Regions from separate parts of the Homo sapiens genome. Here regions 1 and 2 are each linked to region 3. Evidence: promoter capture Hi-C in 16 types of primary human blood cells and fetal thymus (Javierre and others, 2016). All regions are on one chromosome and are shown on one strand. The core of a region is centred on a gene start or on the middle of the fragment in contact, and the rest is flanking DNA. Distances in the headings are between cores, read along the strand shown. Region 1 has its middle 16 kb from the start of SPATA31F1. Region 2 holds the start of SPATA31F1 (SPATA31 subfamily F member 1). Region 3 holds the start of PHF24 (PHD finger protein 24).

Evidence for each region. The method cuts DNA at HindIII sites, captures the fragments that hold promoters and counts their contacts. A CHiCAGO score of 5 or more calls a contact.
Region 1: a contact is called between a fragment that was not itself captured here and the fragment with the promoter of PHF24 in region 3, in 1 of 17 cell types (endothelial precursors). The highest score is 5.6, in endothelial precursors.
Region 2: the fragment with the promoter of SPATA31F1 here is called in contact with the fragment with the promoter of PHF24 in region 3 in 4 of 17 cell types (erythroblasts, endothelial precursors, M2 macrophages and 1 more); the score reaches 6.6 in erythroblasts.

The regions. Positions count from the first base shown.
Region 1 is chr9:34,744,303-34,747,034 of GRCh38, reverse strand. It overlaps a transcript of PHF24 not described here. Among named protein-coding and RNA genes, the nearest start is that of SPATA31F1, 16 kb to the right of the region's middle. The HindIII fragment of the contact is 712 bases long and covers 1,035-1,746 here.
Region 2 is chr9:34,728,197-34,730,990 of GRCh38, reverse strand. It overlaps SPATA31F1 (SPATA31 subfamily F member 1), which reads left to right and starts at 1,503. Exons shown (of 4, transcript NM_001141917.2): 1 at 1,503-1,707; 2 at 2,337-2,382. The coding sequence starts at 1,564. It also overlaps a transcript of PHF24 not described here. The HindIII fragment of the contact is 7,130 bases long and covers 951-2,794 here.
Region 3 is chr9:34,956,926-34,959,625 of GRCh38, reverse strand. It overlaps PHF24 (PHD finger protein 24), which reads right to left and starts at 1,341. Exons shown (of 8, transcript NM_015297.3): 1 at 1,225-1,341. RefSeq lists a silencer at 1,214-1,293 and an enhancer at 2,643-2,700. The HindIII fragment of the contact is 16,428 bases long and covers 1-2,700 here.

The sequences.
Region 1 (2,732 bases), core at 141-2,640, 210 kb after region 3:
AAAGGCATCTTTTGATAAATAAAAGATCTTGATTTTAATGTAGTCCAATGTGTCAATCTTTCTTTATGATTAGTGCTTTTTGTGTCCTTTTTAAGAAATTTTTCCTAACCTCAAGGTAATGAAGATAGTCTTCTATGTTATATTCTAGAAGCTTTATGATTTGTTTGACCACCCTAAAGCAACAGGATGGGCCCACACCCAAAATCTGATTTGAATATCAAGACTGATGATGCCACACACAATAAGAGGGTATAAAAAGGTTTATTATTTACATAATTGAGGTCTCTGGGAGCAGGGCATGCCTCCCAAGCTGCCAAAATTTTGGCTTTATTGAGCAAGGAAAGGAGACTGACTCACAGTTTTTAATGTTTGCTTAGTATTCTTTATCAGATTTCATCCATTCCTTGTTTGAGAAAAGTTTTCCTAATGAATGAATGTTTAATATTATCAAAATATTTTTCTACATCAATATTATCATACAATTTTTATTCCTAATTCTCTTAATGTGAATTGCAGTGATTGCTCTTTCAATCTTGCACTTGCTTTGTACTCCTGAAATAAACCCAATTCACTCATAGTGTATTGCTGATTTTATATGTGGATTTAGTTTGGTAATCTTTTGTTTAGGTTGCTAATATCTATGTTCATAAATGAAACTAGCTTGTACTTTTCTTTTCTCTTACTATAGTTGTCAGGCTTTGGTATCTCATGGCTGGTAGCTAAGCTAGAGGCACTGGCAATTCCAGATCACCATAGTTCAATCAGAGACTGAGAGGATTCAAAGTAGATTCAATTCCTGTGACAGCTTATCTATTTCCAGTTCATACTTACTGCTATGGTACAGCTCTTCAGGATTGACCAAAAGCCTGTGGTTTTTACCAGAACCCCTCCTTCTTATCAAGCAAATTCCAAGTTTTGTTCCCTTTAACCTATAAATCTTTCAAATTTTCTGCTCAGTTTTTCGGCCTGTTAGCCCTTGTCATTGACCTTAAGAGGAAGAACAGCCCCAAATGTCAGGCTCACTTCAGTAAGCTTTCCCTCTCACTTGAATCTTGACCCCATAATTCCTCAGTGCTTTGGTAGTTTTACCAAAGTTTTTAAAGTAATTTTTGATAGTTTTATCAAACTTTTGTTGAGGTTTTACAATGCCTTTCAACATTATTTAAAAATATTTTGTCACTATTTTCTAGTTGTTCTTGGCAGGAGAAATGGTCTGAATCAACTTAATCTATCATTGGATTGAAAGTGCCCTAATTGTTTACTTTTGAAATGTTTTTTTAAACTATAGAAGTACAATGCATCTTCATTATTTGTTAGGGGGGTAAAGTTGTGGGTATATTTTTCCATTTTCAGAATTCTGAATGGGAAATGGAAAAATATACCCACAACTTTACCCCCCATAATAAATAATGCTATCAGTATGGGGTATTTCTGGTCTTTTTTCTCATGGACACATTTTTCCATGGTTATATACTCTTAGTGCTCAAATAATTTCACATGCTGGTTTTTTTCCTTTAACATCATTCCCGTCAGTATTTTACCTACCTACCTCTTATTGTAAATATCATTTCTTCTTGAAAAGCTAGTAAATTCTTTCCCCACCGCTTTTTTCATTCTCCTACGAGAGTACCTACAGCTACTTCTCACACTCCAGTGAAGCAGCTAGCCTATAAAATGAAGCTGATTGATGGATGGAAAATTGAGTAGCCCACTCTGTTGGTCCTCTTGACCATGGCTCACCAAGCTTGGCCAGTATAGCTGTGGATCCAAGAAGCCAGTATGGAGCAGCAAGAATCAGGAGGCTGATCAGAATTAACAACACTCCAGCTGTGGGGACTTAGTAGTCAGCCTACTTCAGCTCCTTCCTGACCTCTCTGCTCTGAGTCATGGAGGATAGTCTGCCAGCTGGCTGCTCCTTGCTCTAATCCCTCCTCTGCTCCTGTGTACTCAGTACACCCCTGCACTCCTTTAGCATCCATCCCAGCAAGGATAGCAGCTTCCGCCCAAGCCTTCTAGTTAGGAAATGATATTGTCTCTTCTGATTCTGTGCTAAAATATTCCTGTCAAGCTGTAACTAACCCCTGGCTTCCTGTTCAACACCTGTCTGGCTGGTGGAGCAGATGATTAATGAGTATGTCATGGACCTGGATTTTTTTTTTTAATCTTGCCAAGTCATGACAGGTGATATCTCCACCTCCATCCACTTGGAATGTTTCCGTATTAAAGATTACCTGATTTTGGCAAGACCTATTCTTTAGAGCAGCAGCTCCCAACCTTTTTTACACCCTGACACATTTGGGAAATGATATTCAAGTGCCCAGTGTTACCCAGTGCACAATTTCCAGCATATGTGCTGTAACTCTACCCCTTTCTCTCCCTCAGCAAAGCATTGCAGAATGAAAGTAAAAGTAGCATATTATAGAGATAAATTTAAGTTGCCTTTATTCTTTCATCATGTAAAACATTAAAATATTTTGGCACAATATTTAGTGACAAATGAACAAGGTTGAAAACCACTGTTCTGTGGTGATTCACCTCCTCATCAGAAAGCAATTACTAGGAACCTTCTGAGTATGCAGCACTGAGCCAGGTTGCAACCTACTTTGTAGTTGGCCATAAGCAAGCCAATTTTGTTATAGTTTTTACCCCAAATTTGAACTTACAGCTCTATGATTTTTGTGCATTACATCTTTCTCACTCTTACATATAAGCAGTTTATTGGTTCTTCAAAA
Region 2 (2,794 bases), core at 254-2,753, 230 kb after region 3:
AATAAAATAGATACAAAGGCCCTCCCTCCATCAAGAGGCCTCTATCCTGATCCTCCAATCTTTCTCACAATTGCTCTCCAGTCCACCCTTCTATATTCTGCTAGAGATACACTGCATTTGTTATTGCCAAATGAACTCCATGGCCCATTCCCTAGATTCAGCATGAGCTGGTAAGTTTTTCTCCCACCAGGAAGAGTCCTTTTACCCACAACCTGCACTGTTAAACTTAACTTCGACTACCCAGGAGCCCTCTCTGATGACCATGATCCTCACTATGATTTCTCTTCTCTGAAATGGAATGTTTGTGGCCAGAGCCTTACGAATGAGTATATAAGTCTATTTGTAGTGATTGTTGGCTCTTGCTTTGTATGAATTAGTCTTGTCTTTGAAACTACATTTTTAAGTATCTTGAAAGCAGAAAGCCAATGCGGCTCAAATGTCTTTGTATCCTCAACACTCCCCAGCTTAGGGCTGAGCACATATTGGGTGCTTACCACATCTGCTGGGTGGGCTGGATACTGAGGAAGGACCAAAGCCTCTTCAGAGATTTTCAGCCCAAAGGTTTCTTGGCCTGAGACCACCATTACCAGAGCAGAACTCTCTCAAGGAAATTCAGGAATACTGAGGTGTTGGTGGCATATCACAATATCTACAAAAGCTAGGCAGGTAAATCAATAGTCTGGCTATGGAAGTAATGGGTCCTGAAGCTGAATTGGAAAACACATGCCCTGCCTAAAAATTTACAAAATACAGATTTGAGAAAAATAAACAAACAAACAAAAAAAACATCCTCAGGCAAACAGCATACATCCAACCATGAACAGCAACTAGTCACTTGTGACCCACAGTCAGAAGCGGCCACTAACCCATCTCTGCAGGCATTCATCTCCCTGAGCATGAATGTGCCTCCATGGAAGGTAGCATTTACAGTCCCAACCCATCTGCAAGCTTGAGGCCACACAGACCAGATACGTACAACCACCTTGGCCTCTCCCTACCACCCTACCACATCAGCCATGGTCCCCTTCCTGCACCTCTGTTACCAATCACCCATTGCCTAAAACATCAAAGATCTCCATTTCCAAGCCATAACCAGACTCCGCCCTCCCTAAATTCATGTGTGTTTCTCAGGTATATTACCAAAACTAGTGGGAGAGTTAGTGGAGGTTCCTCCGGCCTATCTACCCCTTCTTATGAGGTGACCCCTGTGCCAAAGCACTCAGTTTTCTGAGGACAGGTGACCATACAGTTGTGAAGGAGAGAGCCGAGGCATCAGGCTGGTATAGGGAGTGGAAAGTGAAGACAGACTAGGAAATAGACACTGCTTGTGGCACCTTCAGTCCCAGGCTCAAAACACCCTCATCTACAGACTGAATCACCACATGAGCTTCCCTACTACATGTACCTTATGAAACAGGAGGGCTTTGTGATGCAGTCTGGTGGCCTAGTTCCGTCCTCTGTGAGGTGGACATGACAAGGCCTAGCACTGGGATTCATTAGGCACCAGAACCCTGAATTCCGAGATAGAGGGATGGTTGATCTCATGCTAATGAAGTTTAGACCATGTTGAGCCCTACTTTTGTTCTGTGGGAAGTTGGATATCCCTTATACATCTATGGCTCCATCTTCATCGTTATTGTAATTATCTGGCAAGTGAAAAGGAGCCACCATGAATTGAGTTCAGAACCTAAAAGGAGCTGCTGCCGGGTAGGGCTGTGATCCCAACTGAACTAATTAAGCCTCAGATAAGAAGCCTATAAGTTCTTACCGTGCTCCCTTATAATCCCCACCCCAGAATTTTTATAGCATACTTTCAGTTACCTTTGTGTAATACTTTTCTTCTCAGAGACTATAATTCCTTACCAGGCCCTTCCCGCAACATAGTCTGATTGAAAAGCCAAGAACCTCTCTATTTGGTTTGGATTGAGAACTAGATAATATGAAGTCTATCTTGCTGGATCTCGGAAGCTCTCTGAATATGGGGGATTTTTCCGGTTGGTGGGCTTTGTAAGCAGAAGTCCTTTGGTTGTTAGAACCATTTACCCTTTTGTCTGTTCTGCTTTTCCTCCTGTGTCATCCTCAGCATCCAGCAGGACTTCTCTGTGAATCAGATGGGAGGTATAGAATTTGGAAAAGCCTCCAAGTGAATCCAAAATAAGCAGAGAAGGAAAATGGGGTAAAAAGGTGGAATAGGCAAAGGAAGTCCAGGAGAGTGTATAAAATACAGATAGATATATACAAAGCGAGTGAAAAATGTATGTAAGTTTTGTCTCATTTTGGACATGAGAAAGAAAATGGTGTCCCAGCTTCACATTCTAATGTTTTTGTCTTCTAAGTGTCACCAAAAAGTCAGGCAAAGAGCTAGAGATGCAGCATCAACAGGTAAAGTCCCAATCTCTCCTCTGACTCCCTTCCACTGTGGGTGTTTCCCATGAATCCTGTCCCTCTGTGACCTCTGGAGCCAAGAGCCAGGTGCTCTGCCACTGAAGACTCCAGTTCCCCAGACTGAAATTTCCATGGGTGGGAAATCATAACTTGAGAATGTTCCAAAATCCTGTACCTCAATGCCCTGGAAATGAAGAATTAAGAAAGTAGAGCAGATGTTCTTAATTGTATAACTTACTAGTTTTATGACCCTGTGGAAGTCATTTCATCTCTCATTCTTATCCACAAAATGAGCAAAACACTGACAATCCTGCCTCAATCACATTGTGGTTGTAAAAATCAAATGAAATTAGATATGGGACATTGTGTTACAGCGATGCTGTACTCAGACATGCCTTAGAGTACGGAC
Region 3 (2,700 bases), core at 92-2,591:
GCCAGTTAAACTGTCCTCATCCACTTATTTAATCATCACATTTACTGAGCTTGTACCACTGCAAAACCCTATGCTCGGCAGGCACCTTAATGCAACTTATTAACAAATATCTATTCTTTCTTCTGCTGCTCCTTAGTACTTTTTCCCAAATAAAATTTGAAAAACATTTTATGATTATGTTTTTCATCAGCTTTGTGACCTTGGGCAAATTGCTAAACCTCTCTGAGTCTCAATGTTTAAAAGGGGATAATTTCACAAAGCTGTTGTAAGAGTTATATGAGATGTTTAAACATACCTAGTATACTGCCTAGCGTACTGGTGCTCAACAATCCCATACATCCTTTATTCCTTCCTTCAAAGGCCTTTCCCTCCAGGACCTGCCAAAGTCAGTTATTCCACCTGATCTTACTGCTTCCTTCCGCACGGTCAAACCTAGGGGCTCAAATCTCCTATCTTTGCTTTAGAGGCCTCACTGGTCCTCATCCTCGGCTTAGGGCCCTGTGCTCTCGCAGCAGTTTCTGTCTCCACTAAAATGCAGCGTGGAGCAACTGGGCTACCATGGAGAAGAAAAATCCGAATGGGGAAAGAGGAGGAATGGAAAGAGGCTGCAGCCCTAGAAGGCCCCCACCTCTGGGCCACGGTGTGGGGATACAAGTAAGGGCACATGGAACCCTACAGGGATCCCGGTGGAGGCCAAAGTCCTTGGAGCCGTGGGAAGTCACTCATGGATCCCATGGGAGGATCCCCCTCCCCAGTCAGAGGTTGCTTCCCACAGTTCTAGGGCACAGTCTCAGGTCCTCCTTTTCTAGGGAGCCCTCTGGGGGCTCCACCACCTCGAGGTTCCTGCGGCTCCCCTATGTTCCCAGGTGGTCTTCCATTGAGCCAGCTCCAGAGACCACCCTTGTGCCTGCTCCCACAGTGACACAGAAGGGCTCTCTGGGGCCAGTCCCCTCCACGCTGGGGCTCCCTATGGCAGCAAATGCAGACAGCGCCGCGGGAGTCCATTCCCACAGGGGGTCTTTATGGGGGCGGCTCCCCACAGCACCTCAGGGACTCCCCCAAGGCGTAGAGGCAGCAGCTACTTGGGGTTCATCCAATGACACAGGGGGGCCACCTTGGAGGCGGCTCCCACACAAGCACCTCAGAGTCCCGGAGGACTGTCCGCGGCCGCAGACCCGCCCCTCAGGTGACGGCCCGGTCCCCGCCGCCCCCGCCCCCGCTTACCGGGACCGTCCGGGTGCGGGACGCGGCTCCGGGGCGGCGGACTCTACACACCGCGGGCCCCGCGCAGCCCACGGCAGCCCGAGAGCCGGCGTGCTGGGCCGAGCGCCGGCAGCAGGCGGCGCGGGCGGAGCGGCAGGCTGAGGAGGCGGCGGCGGCGGCGGCGGCGGCGGCGGCGCGCGCGGCCGGAGCACACCCACCCGCCCCGGGGGGCTGCGGCGTGTGCACCCGCGCGAGGTGCCCTGGGCCGGCCGGTGGGCGCGCCCCGCCCCGCCCAGTCCTCTTGCGCCTCCAGGAGACGCCCTCGCGGCTCCGCGGGCGGCGGGTGACCGGCGACGGGCGCGCGGGCGTGGGGCGCCGTGGGAATGCGGGAGGACGGCGGACGGCTCCGATGAGCAGACGGCCCAGGTGCCCGTGGGCGCCCCCCACGAGCGCCCGGCACTGCGGCGCGGGGACTGCGCCAGCGGCCGACTGCGGCAAGGACAGTGCCCGCCCGGAGGAGGCGGCCCGGAGGGGGCGCCTTGGGGGCGCTGGGGCCGCTCACCGCTCGCGTTCCGCGCCGGGGGTTGGGTGGGGGGAAGGCGGGGTCCGGGTGGATGCCGCCACCAGCACGTGCCCGGGGTGGGGAGAATGACTCATCCAGCAGGGCCTACCAGCCGTCCCCCGCAGGGCTCCGGGCTCACGACCCCTGGCACTGGGGCACTCACCTTTGCAGTACCCCACTGGCCTCCGGAGGGTCCCAACGAACCTTCACATAATCCTCGGCTGGCCCAGCCTACCCTATGCGCTGTTTTCTGGGATTATTGGTTTTTCATCTCCAGCAGCGAGGCTGTGCTGTCGTGTAACCCACTTTTTGCTGCAGCAACCTCATCCCTCACAATATCCAAACAGCTAGCTTGTCAGAAGGCCAGCAATTCTGAGGGCTATAATGTGCATTACACCAAACTACATGCTTTGAAGAGGGCAAGAAAAAGATAAAATCGTAAGATAGCCAGCAACTAATTATAAGGAAAAATTGAAGATATGCAAATGATATGTCGAGAGCCCTTTAATTTATATTAATTGCACTTACATTTTTAAAATACCTTTATTTTCTTGTGCATTCAATTTATTTACCTCAAATATAATGCATGTCATTTTTTTGAGCGTCTAGTATTTGTTACATACTGTGCTAGGTACCCTGGTGCGATATAAAAAAGAAATTTTGCCCTTAACATGGAATTTACCAATAGAGGATATAAGGCAAGTATGGTATATTTCTATCACTTTAAAACACGAAGTGCCAGGTACTATTCTAAATGGTTTAAATATGTTGTCATTAATTTTCACACCATCCCTTTGAGGGAGTCTACTGTTAGTTTCGACATTTTGCCAGTGATGAAACTGAGGCAAAGAGAGGTTAAACAACTCGCCCAAGGTCACATGGCTAATATGTGATGGAGGTGAGACTGAAATTCAGGTATTCTGATTTCATACCGC